4 separate regions of the Homo sapiens genome follow, and all the other regions are linked to region 1. The links are contacts of gene promoters, found by promoter capture Hi-C in human tissues and cell types (Jung and others, 2019). All regions are on one chromosome and are shown on one strand. The core of a region is centred on a gene start or on the middle of the fragment in contact, and the rest is flanking DNA. Distances in the headings are between cores, read along the strand shown.

Region 1 (3,355 bases), core at 549-3,048:
TCATTGAGGGATATCCAAGAATCCAAAATCTCTTGACCAATAAATGTGAGCTTGTTGGAATCCAGGTTGAGGCGCTGCAGATTCGGGACACACTGGAAAACACTGGGTCCACTGAAAGCTTCGATCTCATTGCCTGATAAATCAAGCCTTTGTAAGGAGCTCCAGGTCCAGGACATGGTCTGTCCTATGACACTGATTTTATTCCACTGCAAGTAAAGGTTCTGAAGGCTGACCAACCTTGGAAAAAGGGCCAGGTTGAGCTTGGAAAATTGATTGTGCTCCAGGTGAAGTTCTTTGAGTCTGATCATGCCAGCAAAGACATTCCTGGCTAAACTTCGGATCCGGTTATATCCCAGGTCCAAAAGTTCCAGGTTGCGGCAGTCTTGGAATATTCGCACAGGGATGGTTCTCAGGGAGTTAGACCGTAAATGTAAACTCAGCAGCTTCCGCAAGCCCCGAAACTGTTCAGATCCCAGAGAATGCAGCTGATTATAGGACAGATCCAAGTTCCGTAAATTTGTCACAGGTCTGAAGGTATTGTTAAGAAAATAGGAGATTCTATTGGAACTAAGAATCAGCTCTTTGAGTCTGCGTATTCCATTAAAAGCATTTTCGTCAATATTGCTGATATGGTTATGGTCAAGGTATAGCCAGGTGAGCTGGTTGAGCCCTTTAAATTGATTATACTTAAGTTTTTGAAGGCTGTTATAGCGAAGGGACAAACCTAAGCAACCAGCAGATATACTTGAGGGTATCTCCTGTAATTTCTGAGATTCACAATATACCATTTTGCCTTCACACCTACAGCCCTTAGGGCATCCTCGTTCGGCAGAAGAAAGCATTGTCAGTAAGACAGTGGGGGCTATAACCAGTGCTACAGCTGATCCGCTCAGTAGCCTAATTACATTGAAACCTGGAAATAAAAACAACTTAGAAAAGTTATCCCCCCAAAAAAGAATTAATCCTTAATCAAGCAAAAATAGGCATATATTTTTCATTTTTAAAAATTTAAATCTAAATAACACTTAACATCACATATTATCTCTTTGTAATTAAAGAGAATTGTCTTTAGTGTTTTGTTTTTTTAAATAGTTAAACAAGGAAACATGCCACTAAGCAAATAAATTCATAGTCTTAGAGCAGAGCAAGGTAATCTCTAAAATAATTAAGGCAGAATTATTACACACACTAGAGGTTTTTTGTTTTTTGTTTTTAAGAAGGAAAGAAGAAAAATGACAAAACATACCCATCCTTTGTATTGTTCAAAGGTCGTCCTTAGGTCTTTTGCTTTGGCTTAGGGGCCAGTTGCATGACAGCCCCTGTCAGCTGCACTGTAGTGAGTCAGGGCTCGCTGACACCCAGGAAGAAAAATTGGACCCCTTGGGAGATGGACCGATTTTGGAACATTATTCTTTGCCAGCCACGCAGAACACTCCAAGAACAAATAAATCCCAACACCGCATTCGCAGCAAAACATCAAAATCTTCCTAGGTAATAGGATCTTCATGGATATTACGTTTTTGCATCTTTACAGTTTTTTGGGGGGTGGGGAGGGGGCGGTTAAAAAAAAAACTGGATCCTACAATTTCTTCTTATCGAAAAACATGATGTATTCTTCCAGGCAATTTGGGGCTACCTGAGCTGCCACATCTGTATTCCATACCCCAGCAGTTCCCGTGATGAGCACCCAGTTCAGCCACAGAGCTGCGTTGGAGCCCAGAAGGCAGGAGAGCCCCGTACCGCGCACACGCTCAGCTCACTTCTGCAGACTGTCATTCTGAAAGCTGCTCGGACTGTTGCTTTGGTTTCAGTGAATGCAGTCTTATGTAAAGCTGCCCCCAGTGGTGAAGAACATTATGGGCATGTGCAGAAATGTCTCTCTTTTATCTTGCAAATGAGCAGGCTCTCTGCTGGAAAATGAATGATTCTTTTGGGTGGCTCAGTAGGAACTGAATGGTCACCGTGATCAATAACTAGCAACATTTTCTGTGATTTCCAAGTCTTGTTTTACAATTTGGCAACGTCTTTATTGTCTGTGTCCACTTAATTGCTAAACATGTGCTGCCCAGAGTTTTTCTGGAGCTTGACATTAAGTTCACAGACCGAACGTCAATTTTTCTTAACCTCAACGCAGGCTTTAAACTGAAATTTATAAAATGAATTATTGAGCTTTTCACAGAGAAGCATTAACTGCCTGCCCATTTGACCTCTTGGAGTCACAGTGATTATATTATGCAAGGTGTCTCAGGATGTTAGAACACAAACATTTTGGAATAGAGGGGATGACTGATGACAAGTGAATTAATGTGTCCAATAGCCTTTCCGGTTTTCTCACAGACGATATAATTGATTTTATGGCTATAGTTTCGTTTGTTGTTTTGGTTGTTGTAATTCTCTTTTAATTAGAAGGGAAATAAACCATTTTTAGTGTTAGGATACGAATCAAGAGATCATTTGGTTCATACTTTATTGATGTTGCTGCTATTTATTACACTAATAATATTTATGGAGCACTTTCTAAGTGCTTTAAATGGGCTACGTTGTTTTCTCTTTAAACAATAGTATGATGTGGGTCCTATTATAACCTCTCTTTTAAAGATGAGGAAACAGACTTGGGGAGGTAACTTTCTCAAGGTCATACAGCAAGCGAGTGCTAGAGCTGAGCTTCAGAAGCGAGTCATTCTTATGCCGAACCACTAACCACTAGATGATCCTGTTCAACAACATTGTTATCTTCATTTAAAAAAGAAGTCAGTGAAAATGAAGCCGATTAAAGGATTGGGGCAAGGAAGCTGTGATTAGCAAATTCTTGCTTGTTCTATTAGAATTGCCTAAATTTCTTTTGGTCTGAGGTTCCTAAAGAAGTATAAAAACTAAGGCAGCGTAGTTTAGTGATTAACAGCATAGATTTTGGCACCTAGATTCCAACTCCTGGCTACAATTTACCAGCTATGTAACCTTAAGCGCGTTACTTACCTTCCCTATGCCTCAGTTTTCTCATCTGCAAAACGGGCATAAAAACAAAAACTCACTTCATGTTTTGAGAATTAAGTCATTTTAATATCTGTATGTTACTTAGAACAGTGTGTTGCATGCAATAAGCCTGTGTAAGATATTTGAATAATATTAACTTTATTTGTACTTGCTAGGATTACGTACTGAATATTGACTATACTGACCTTCATTAACTCACAAAGAACAACTTTAGTGAGCATTTTTAAATATTGTACATGGTGGATTTCTGAGATTTACTCAGTCTTGCCTTCTTTGATGAGATAACTTCCTTTATGTTCATCATCTGAACTTTATCTTTAAAATAAATCTTCTGGTTCTGTGGATCATGACTAATAATGTT
Region 2 (3,355 bases), core at 361-2,860, 710 kb after region 1:
TACATTAATATGTCTTAATACAACAAATTTGTGTAACATGGGGCAAAAAGGACATTTCTTTCTTTCTTTTTGGAGACAAGAGTCTCTCTACCACCTAGGCTCTAGTGCAGTGGCATGATCTTGGCTCACTGCAACCTCCGCCTCCAACCTCTGCCTCCCAGGTTCAAAGGATTCTCATGCCTCAGCCTCCCGCATAGCTGGGATTACAGGCATGTGCTACTAAAACTACTAATTTTTGTAGTTTTAGTAGAGATGGGGTTTCGCCATGTTGGCCAGGCTGGTCTCAAACTCCTGGCCTCAAGTAATCTGCCCACCTTGGCCTCCCAAAGTGCTGGGATTATAGGTGTGAGCCACCATGCTTGCCCAAAAAAGGACATTTCTTATTTTTAGCTATCTCTTAATATTTTCCTGAAAGAAAGCTACACTGAAATGATATTAATACATAATTCAAATACTAAATTAAAAATCTTTTACAACAGCACACTACTGAAAGCATTTGCCCTCAATTACTTTGTTGCACCCTCTTCAAAAGCATCAAAAAAAAGATTAAGCAGAAACACAACTCCGAAATATAAAAGTAATTATATTTATTAGCCAAAATAATAAGAAAGTTAAAATAGAAATAAAACTTCTAGGGATGCTAATAAGAAATGTTTAAAAAATTAACAACAGCAAAGTAACCTGAATATTTAGGTTCTGGCTAAGAAATGGAGAGGTTTTAAAATCCTTAAAGCACACATGTATAACAGATTACTATAAGTATTATTAGGCTGAGGCATTAAGAAACAATAGTTGCTGGCTGGGCGCATTGGCTCAAGCCTGTAAACCCAGCACTTTGGGAGGCCGAGGTGGGTGGATCACGTAAGGTCAGGAGTTTGAGATCAGCCTGACCAATATGGTGAAACCCCGTCTGTACTAAAAATACAAAAATTAGCCAGGCGTGGTGGCGGGTGCCTACAACCCTAGCTACTCAGGAGGCTGAGACAGGAGAATTGCCTGAACTTGGGATGCAGAGGTTGCAACGAGCTGAGATCGCGCCACTGCATTCCAGTCTGGAGAAAAGAGTGAGACTCTGTCTCAAAAAAAAAAAAAAAAAAAAAAAACCCAAAAACAATAGTTGCTATGACTGCAAAGGAAATGTTAGACATGCACAAAAGTTATAATCTGAAATTGGTTCAACAATTCTTGAACCACATAATCACATCCATAGAGAGGGACAGTAGACATGAGAGAAGGATTTTTGAAGAAAAACTTGCCTGTTGGGTCCCTCCGATTGCAACTCTGTTGTGGAATTGGCTGGTGTTTGGTGTTCCCCATCATCGTGGACTCCCACAGTAAACTCCACCTCTTACTACCAGGAACTCTTATCCGGGCATGTTGCCCTCTTGGGCCAGCCTGTTTTTAAATGGCTCCACACTGAAGATTCTACTGCAGATATTAGGGTTGGCTTCTGGAATTCATCCCCTTTCAATATCTAGGTGAAGGGGTTGCTTTTAAACTCAAACACAGGCTTGTACTCGGTACTCACTGGCCTCTTTAGCTTTTTCAGATGTGAATTAGGCTCCAGGCCAAAGCATCCCCCAACTGCAGGTAGCTCATTCAAGCTTTTTTTGTACTTGCAGAGAAATCTTAGTTCAGGGTTAGGGAACTGCTTCCCAGTCTTCCTTTTTTGTTATACTCACAGCAGAGCTCTCTCTAAAATAATTGCTTCAAGGATGCTGCCCATATCTGCTGTCCCCATATCTGGAGCCCTTTAGAGCTTTTGTGTGACAAAGGTTGAAGTGTAACATTACTCATATGTAGTATTTCAGTTTTTATGTGCTGCTTGAAGTCTAGCACCTCCTTTGGAACTCTGCATCCATTATATGTTCACGCCTTGGCCAAAATGTCCATTTGTGAATTCCTCAGGCTGCTGTCTTTTCCTGTGTTGATGGTGTTACTGTTGCAACTGTGCTGCCGTTTGGAAGCATTCTGGGAAGGTAGCTAGCTCCAAATTTACATTGGTCATAAATCAGGCAATTCATTAATGGTACAGTATGATGGAATGTTCCCAAAACGTTGCTTCCCTGAGAATTACCACTTAGTCCTATAGATGCCCCCAGAGAGCTCTCTGTTTATGGGAAGTGTTGTTTCTACAATTTAAAATCTGAGAACATTTCAGAGTATGTCAGCCACCCAAGAACTGTGGCTTTCTATATGTACAAGGTGGCCTAGGCCCCAAAGAGATGCTATAAATAATTCTATCATTTTCAGTAGATCACGTTCTAAACACAATTGTAAACTACATGTGAATTATTTTGTAAACTTTATATGGCTATGTTGTTTTTTGTTGTTTACTCCATTTGCTTAGCATCGGATTTTATATATTTTAGCATACACTGATATCTTTCTTACATTACAAAAACACATATTATGCTATTTTATTTAATGCAATTTTAAGTGGTACGTTAACATAAATTTAAATTTCTGTAAAAGTAAGAGTGTACCTAAATGTATACATTTATTTATGTATCAATTGAAAAAAAATCTTATCGAAACAATAGATTTACCCTGGAATTATGAAATAAGCCTTGCTATAAAGGAAGTCTTTCTCATTGCTAACTCTAATACATTATTTACATTATGTAATAACTTGGGCCTTTTAATTTTCCTGTCAGGATTAAAAAGTAGTACTCCCTTATTTCTCAATGCAAGAACCCTGGACTCAATTGATGTGCAATTATTTAGAGTAAGCAAAGACTCTAAATCAGATGCTTTTGTTATCTCGTTTGCCTTAGTAAATTATAGGAAGTGGTTCCACTATCATTGCCATTTTTTCCCCATATCAGCTGTGTGTTGAGGTCCTGCTTCTTGGCATACCTAAGCCATTTCTTCCCATATATGATACAGTTTATTTTTAATGCCTAAAGATTCCTTATCATACTTACCCTTATTTTACTCCAGCTGGTTTGTGCAATATTGTTATTTTAAATGGTCAATTAAAAATTAACCCACCCTGGGTATTATGTGTGTTCGATGCATTTTCTTATCATTCATTGTTCAGCAATATATTTACTGTGATTTTAAGATCCGAGAGCCAGAAGGGAGCACCAAGTCAGAGTAAAGCCTTCTTAGCCACTACATTTCTTCTTAGTGCTCTCTCTGTCTCTGCCTCTATCTCTGTCTCTCTTACTTTTGCATATAAGTTGCTTGTAGGATAGACTTAAATGTTTATGTTAAACACTATAGGAAAGGCATAAATACGAGCTACTACACATACATGTTTTAACCTAATGTGAGAAACACATGCTAAAGTTTTCCGGAGGACACATGGTTTACTGTCCTATGTCCCAGATTTCTTTATAAGCAGAAACTA
Region 3 (3,355 bases), core at 369-2,868, 580 kb before region 1:
CTTATTGGATGTATGGTCTGCAAACATTTTATTTCATTCCATAGGTTACTATTTCATTTTGTTGATTATTTCCATTTCTGTGCAGAAACTTTTTAGTTTGATATAATTTCACTTATTTATTTTTGCCTTTGTTGCTGGTACTTATGGCATCATATTTAAAAAAATTGTGAAAACTAATGTCATAGAGCATTTCCCCTTTGTTTTCTTATAGTAGTTTTATGGTTTCAGGGCTTATGTTTACAGCTTTAATCCATTTTGAGTTAAATTTTGTTTGTGATGTAGGATAAAAATAAATTTGTTTTTTGGTATGTGGATATTCAATTTTCCCAACCCCACTTATTGAAGAGACTATTTTTTCCACATTGTGTATTTTTGGCAACTTTTCACTATTGAGCATAACACTAACTATGGGCTTGTGAAATACGGCCTTTATTGTGTTGAAATACATTCCTTCTGCTAGGCACGGTGGCTCACACCTGTAATCCCAGCACTTTGGGAGGCTGAGGTGGGTGGATCACTTGAGGTCAGGAGTCTGAGACCAGCCTGGCCAACATGGCAAAACCCTGTTTCTGATAAAATACAAAAATTAGCAGGTGTGGTGGTGTGGGCCTGTAATCCCAGCTATTCGGGAGTATGAGGAAGGAGAACTGCTTGAACCTGGGAGGTGGAGGTTGTAATGAGCTACAATTGCGCCACTGTACTCCAGCCTGGGTGATAGAGCAAGACTCCATCACAAACAAACAAACAAACAACAAAAAAAGGAAATACATTCCTTCTATATCTAATTTGTTGAGAGGTTTTTATCATGAAAGCATGTTGAATTTTGTTAAATTCTTTCTCTGCATCTATTGAGTTGTTTATATGATTTTTGTTCTCCATTCTGTTAATGTGGTGTACCACTTGATCATGGTGAATGGTCTTTTAAAGCTTGTTAGTATTTTGTTGAGGAGTTTTGCATGTTTGTGCATCAGGAATATTGGCCTGTAATTTTCTTTTCTTGTAGCCTCCTTGTCTGGCTTTGGTGTCAGGTAATGTTGGCCTCATAAAATGAGTTTGTAGTATTCCTTCCTCTTCAGTTTTTTGGAGGAGTTTGAGAATTGGTATTAGTTCTTTAAATTTTAGTTGAATTCAGCAGTGAAGTCATCAGGTCCTGGGCTTTCCTTTGATGAGACTTTTTAATTATTGATTTAATTTTCTTTTTTTTTTTCTTTGTTTCTTTCCTTTTTTTTTTGAGATGGAGTTTCCCTTTGTAGCCCAGGCTGGAAGTGCAGTGACATGATCTCAGTTCACTGAAACCTCTGCCTCCTGGGTCCTGGTTCAAGCAATTCTCCTGCCTCAGCCTCCTGAGTAGCTGGGATTACAGGCGTGTGCCACCATGCCTAGCTAATTTTTGTATTTTTAGTAGAGACTGGGCTTCACCATGTTGGCCAGGCTAGTCTTGAACTGCTGACGTCGTGATCCACCTGCCTCGGCCTCCCAAAGTGCTGGGATTACAGGCGTGAGCCACTGCACCCGGCCTTGATTTAATTTTCTTACTCATTATTGGTCTATTCAGATTTTCCATTTCTTCATGATTTTATCTTGGTAGTTTTTATGTGTCTAGGAATTTATCCATTTCTTCTAAGTTATCCAATTTCTTGCCATATAATAGTTCACAGGAGTCTTTTTTAATTCTTTGTATTTCTGTGGTATCACTTCTAATGTTTCCTCTTTTATTTCTGGTTTTATTTGAGTCTCCATTCTTTTTTTGTTAGTCTAGCTAAAGAGACTGAATATGGGAACAGCTGAGACTAAGGTACAGGGAGCTGAAGAAGAGTAAAAATGTCATACTTTAGCTCTGGGTTGTCCACTGTGACTTGGCCAAACTGATCATGGGACTGTCTGGTATTGACTCAGCAGCATTTGTTTCAGAAAAGCAAGCTTAGTCACATATTTACTATACAACTAGTAAAAATTATAATCTCAAATACACTCATATTAAATTTTTGTATCCAAGCTGTACATCTCTACCTGTGTTCACAATCAGAAGACATCACAATGACTGTTACGGTGTCCTTGTCAGGCAAAAAGACTACTGCTTCAACTACAGCTGTTTTGTTAATAGTAGTGCTAGGAGCATGCCTAGGGCACTGTTGGCTAAAATTCAAAGGAAATGTTGAGGATGCCTAGCTGAGACCAACAGTTCAGCTTACAGCAGAGCTTTAAACAGGCACACACCAGTCATGCAGCCTTTTGTAGATGTTAAGCTGTTTGTTAGGGGCTGATTACCTGAGGGCTAATTTAATATGTAATGAGAAGTTTAGTTTGTTCTGTTATTTTTTTTAAGGCGTACTTATTTTTGCTCTCTAAACTATCATGTTTGGACAATTTCATGTTTGCTATTTAGGAAGAAGCTAATCATCTTTTATACCCTATCTCATGCTCCAAATGTGACAGCAGTAGAAACACTTACACTGAAATACATCTAGGTGAGGGAAAATGTCACCAGAAGATGGAGTAGTGTTGCTGGTTTGCTCCATATTTTGTTCAATGATTTAGAAGAGTATGTGTATGTACAGGTTTACTTTCATACACTCTAGTTTCAAATGACAGAAAATATAAATTAATTGATATTCTTCAGAGTCAACATTAAATTTTAGATTGGATGTCTTTAAATTTTTACAATGTAAATTGCTTTTCTCTCTTCTGTGGTCAACTGACAGTTGCATTCATTGACCAGATAAACTATATTTAGCTTAACATTTTTAGTATCACTTATGGGATTTTAGCAAGATGCCACAATATGAACTTGTAATATTGCATTTCTTTTTTAACTGTATTATTACAAACCTGATTTTAAATCATTTTTTTCTATTTTAGTTACAGCATTAATACAGGCTAAAATTCTCTATATAAATTCTGCTCATATTAGTATAGCACCTGGTAGCACTACAGTTCAGTATTTATCATCTACTCCATTATAAAACCTTTGTTCTAAAAGAGCTGTATGAGCCTATTAGATGTATACACAATTAAGTAGGTAATGATCTGTGGTTGCATCCACACAGCATTAACAGCTGACTTGTGACTGATTTTCCAAGTGAGGTGCTGATTGTTGATACGGAGTACTTATTGGATGAAAATGTTTAGAATATTTTGAAGAATTATTTTTGTGCTTTGAAGTTTAAGTTACATATTTTGTTTTAACCTTACTGTTTGCTTAATGAAGAAATTATAATGTTTCCTCCCTCTCATTTTGATGTTGGTATTTATCTCTATTGTTCTAAGCTCCCCATCCAAACATTGGGAGTTACTGAAGCCCTTCTTGGTACTTTTGGTGCAGAATGTAATGGTCCACCACATGTGTCATTACTGA
Region 4 (3,355 bases), core at 260-2,759, 530 kb after region 1:
TGATAAAATAATATTTGTAAATTGGTTATGTAACATAAAACTCTCTTACTAAAATATCTTTTATATAAATATTACTCTAGTAATAACTCTCACAGTAAGTCAATTACTTGTCTTCAAACTCTTAATAGCTGTTGTCAGCAATGCCTATTAAACATATACTTATTATTTTGATGGGAAAATTGCCCCACCCCTACTCCCACAATCACCCAGGAACTTGTAAATACACAATAAACTTTTAAAAAATTATTTTCATAAAGACCAAGATATACACATTGTGATCAGTCTGATCCCAGTGGGACAACTCACGGTACATAATGCAATGATGTACACATGTGGAAAAAGTAAGTATGTCATTGGAAAAATAAATGGTCTAGCATTGTTTACCCATGTACATTATGGCATTTATCATGTTCCTTGGAGTCATTTCTTTAGTTGCTTATTTCTACGACTAGACTGTGAGTTCTTTTAAAGCAAAGACAGTGAGTTATTTATCTTGAAATTTCTCTACACCTCACAAAATACCTTGTAGTAGGAACTCTGCAAATACTCATTAAAATGAATATATCATTATTCAATGAAAGAGATATTGAATGAATGAATATACCATGTGAATATATATATGAGTACTAATTAAATAGAAAATATTAGTTTGGAATTACTATCATTTGGTGGGCAAAGAGAGAGAGGAAAACAATACTGGAAGAACTAAGGATGTTAAGCTTTATCTGTGGGTATCAATGTTATATTTACTTCAGCAATATATAAATGTTAATAAATGGTAGTTTGCTTAGTTCCCTAAGCCTTAGCTATAAGAGTTCTCTGTTTAATAACAATGGCTAATCAAGGATAGAGTATAATTTTAATAGTATCTTACAATAGTAATGCATGTATATTACTGCATGCAATATTATTTTATGGAAAATATATCAATGCTTTAAAAAATAAAAACTACTCATAATGCCACTATTTATTGAAAACTACAATTAGGAGTTTGGAAATTTCCTTCCATATATTTTTCTTAAAATGTATGTAATTATATGCTATATTGTAGAGAAATAAATATATGAATTTTAAATGAGGGTCCTATTTAATAGATACATAGCCTGATTTTTTTCACTTAAAATTATGTCATAAGCATCTTTTTATGTAATTTAATTACTTTATAAGTGAAAAGCTTATATTGGTTTGTTATATTCTATTAAATAAAGTTATTATTTGTGTTTACCAATGGTTAGTTTGCATTATAAATTAAAATCATTGTTTCACTTCAATCAGTAGCTGTGGTTTAAATTTTATTTTGACATGAATCTGTAAACTTATGTGTGCATAGAAAAGCATCTTCTTTATTAGAAATGGAATTTCTTTGAGGATGGTAATTTGGGGACTATTTACTAGAAATGGAATTGCTTGAGGGTGATAATTTGGGAACTATTATTTCCTGATCTAACTCTACCCATCCATAAACTCATTTCTTTAAAATGCTTAATAACTATTCCAATGAATTGTTGGGAAGCTGTGGTTAAATTACTCATAAACATTTCTAGATCTGCTGTAAACTGAGTTCATTTACAAGGTTTTAATACATGTCAGAAGCCTAAGGTGTCACTTTCATGTGGATGCCCAATTTATAATTGAGGCGAAAATATAATTACTCTCTTAACATTTTAATCCTTGAAAATTGTACTAAGTTATTTCAATACTTTTTAAAATTAAGTTTAGTAAACTACATCATTAATTATTTTGCCTGATTACATTCCATGTATTAGGATAAAACTGGTTCAATATAACTAAAAGGGAATTTTAGTATCCCTCTTTTAATATCTAAATAAGTATAGTTTATTCAGTTCAATAAGATTTTGGCTCCTGCATATGCTTTCAGAGTTAAATTAGAAAGCTAATAGTATATAAATACATATCTTTGTATTCTATTATTTGATTGGATAGAGAAAATATGGTATATGCATGGAATACTATGCAGCCATTAAAAAGAATGAAATCATATATTTTTCCAGCAATATAAATGTTGCTGGAGGGCATTAATCTAAGTGAAATAACTGAGAAACAGAAAATCAAGTACCACAAGTTCTCACTTACAAGTGGGAACTAAACAATGGGTACATGTAGACATGAAGATGGAAATAACACACAACGCAAACTCCAGAAGGGGGAAGGGTAGGAGTGGGGCAAGAATTGAAAAATTACCTATTGGGTACCATTTTTGCTACGTGGGTGATGGGTATGCTAGGAGCCCAAACCTCACCATTACACAAACCTGCACATGAAACCCCTGAATCTGAAACAATATAAATAAATAAATAAAAATTACAGAGAGTATCAAGAAATAGAGAACTCTTAAGAGAACAATTACTGATGCTGGTGAAATTGGGATCTTGTTCAGAGGTTACAGAATGGCTATGATTAGGATCTGTTAGAGAATCTTCTAGAAAGCTTTGTGGCAGGTTCATGGAGAAACTTCATGGAAAGGTAAATAATAAGTACAGACTTTTTGGAAATCTGAGGTAAGATGAACCACATTGAATTCCTGAAAACATGGTACCTTTTAAGCCATATCTTTTTGCCTTGTATTTTTTTATTAGTCTTTGTAATTTGTTGTCCAATTCCATGTAGTTTTATAGCAATTTACATATGATAAAAACAATCAGGGTGATACAGAATATTTTGTGAATGATACCGATTTGGGCATGGAAAAAGTCATACCTTGTGTTTGCTTTTAACCTCATGGACTCCTCCTTTGTCATACCTGTGGAAAATTCAAGTTTTTAGTTATGGTTTCCTTGAAGCAATTACAAATGATGCTGAAGAGAATTTGTCTCATAGAGAGGGATCTGTTCTGACAATTTTTGTGCACCTCTGAGCAAAATATAAGAGAAAAATGAATTTCAGCAAAAGAATGCTGTACTTGACTTTAAAATTAATTCATTGACTAGGAAAGTGAACTTCCCTAAGACGTATATCTACTAATAGTCTTCTTCTCTTTTGTTAGCCTTTTTTTCCCACGTGGAGAGATACTGTATTTTCGAAGGTAGTAAAGATAATTGAGCTGTGTATATACTTATTATTCTGAGGGGAAAAAATAAATAAAAACTTAGTAAAATTTACCAGGTTATCAGCAACTCATTTATTCTTAATTTTATCTGTACATTTGCATTCTATCTGTGCATTTGCATTTATTGTACTTTATTTGTTTAGGGTTTCTTTTCTGCTATATGTGTCATATACCTCTAGGGGGTTATTTTAAACAGTACTGGGATTTGCTTTTCTGTGTCCAAAAGCACAGATTTTATATTTGGACACTCAAGTTGTTCTGTATTTTGAACTATGAGAAAGGAATAAT

The links. The method cuts DNA at HindIII sites, captures the fragments that hold promoters and counts their contacts. A contact is called where the count stands out against the background at its distance.
Region 2: a contact is called between a fragment that was not itself captured here and the fragment with the promoter of LRRTM3 in region 1, in 1 of the 25 tissues and cell types used here (dorsolateral prefrontal cortex).
Region 3: a contact is called between a fragment that was not itself captured here and the fragment with the promoter of LRRTM3 in region 1, in 1 of the 25 tissues and cell types used here (hippocampus).
Region 4: a fragment that was not itself captured here is called in contact with the fragment with the promoter of LRRTM3 in region 1 in 2 of the 25 tissues and cell types used here (hippocampus and mesenchymal stem cells).

The regions. Positions count from the first base shown.
Region 1 is chr10:66,924,479-66,927,833 of GRCh38, reverse strand. LRRTM3 (leucine rich repeat transmembrane neuronal 3) reads right to left here and starts at 1,798. Exons shown (of 3, transcript NM_178011.5): 1 at 1,247-1,798; 2 at 1-913. The coding sequence starts at 1,250. The region is part of intron 7 of CTNNA3 (catenin alpha 3); the gene reads left to right. The region is part of intron 3 of LOC101928961 (a long non-coding RNA gene); the gene reads left to right. RefSeq lists a silencer at 1,826-1,935 and an enhancer at 1,555-2,411. The HindIII fragment of the contact is 13,899 bases long and covers 1-3,355 here.
Region 2 is chr10:66,209,732-66,213,086 of GRCh38, reverse strand. All of the region lies in intron 13 of CTNNA3 (catenin alpha 3), which reads left to right. Among named protein-coding and RNA genes, the nearest start is that of CTNNA3-AS1, 130 kb to the right of the region's middle. The HindIII fragment of the contact is 6,515 bases long and covers 1-3,355 here.
Region 3 is chr10:67,505,411-67,508,765 of GRCh38, reverse strand. All of the region lies in intron 5 of CTNNA3 (catenin alpha 3), which reads left to right. Among named protein-coding and RNA genes, the nearest start is that of MIR7151, 100 kb to the right of the region's middle. The HindIII fragment of the contact is 5,109 bases long and covers 1-3,355 here.
Region 4 is chr10:66,394,756-66,398,110 of GRCh38, reverse strand. The region is part of intron 11 of CTNNA3 (catenin alpha 3); the gene reads left to right. Among named protein-coding and RNA genes, the nearest start is that of CTNNA3-AS1, 320 kb to the right of the region's middle. The HindIII fragment of the contact is 3,372 bases long and covers 1-3,195 here.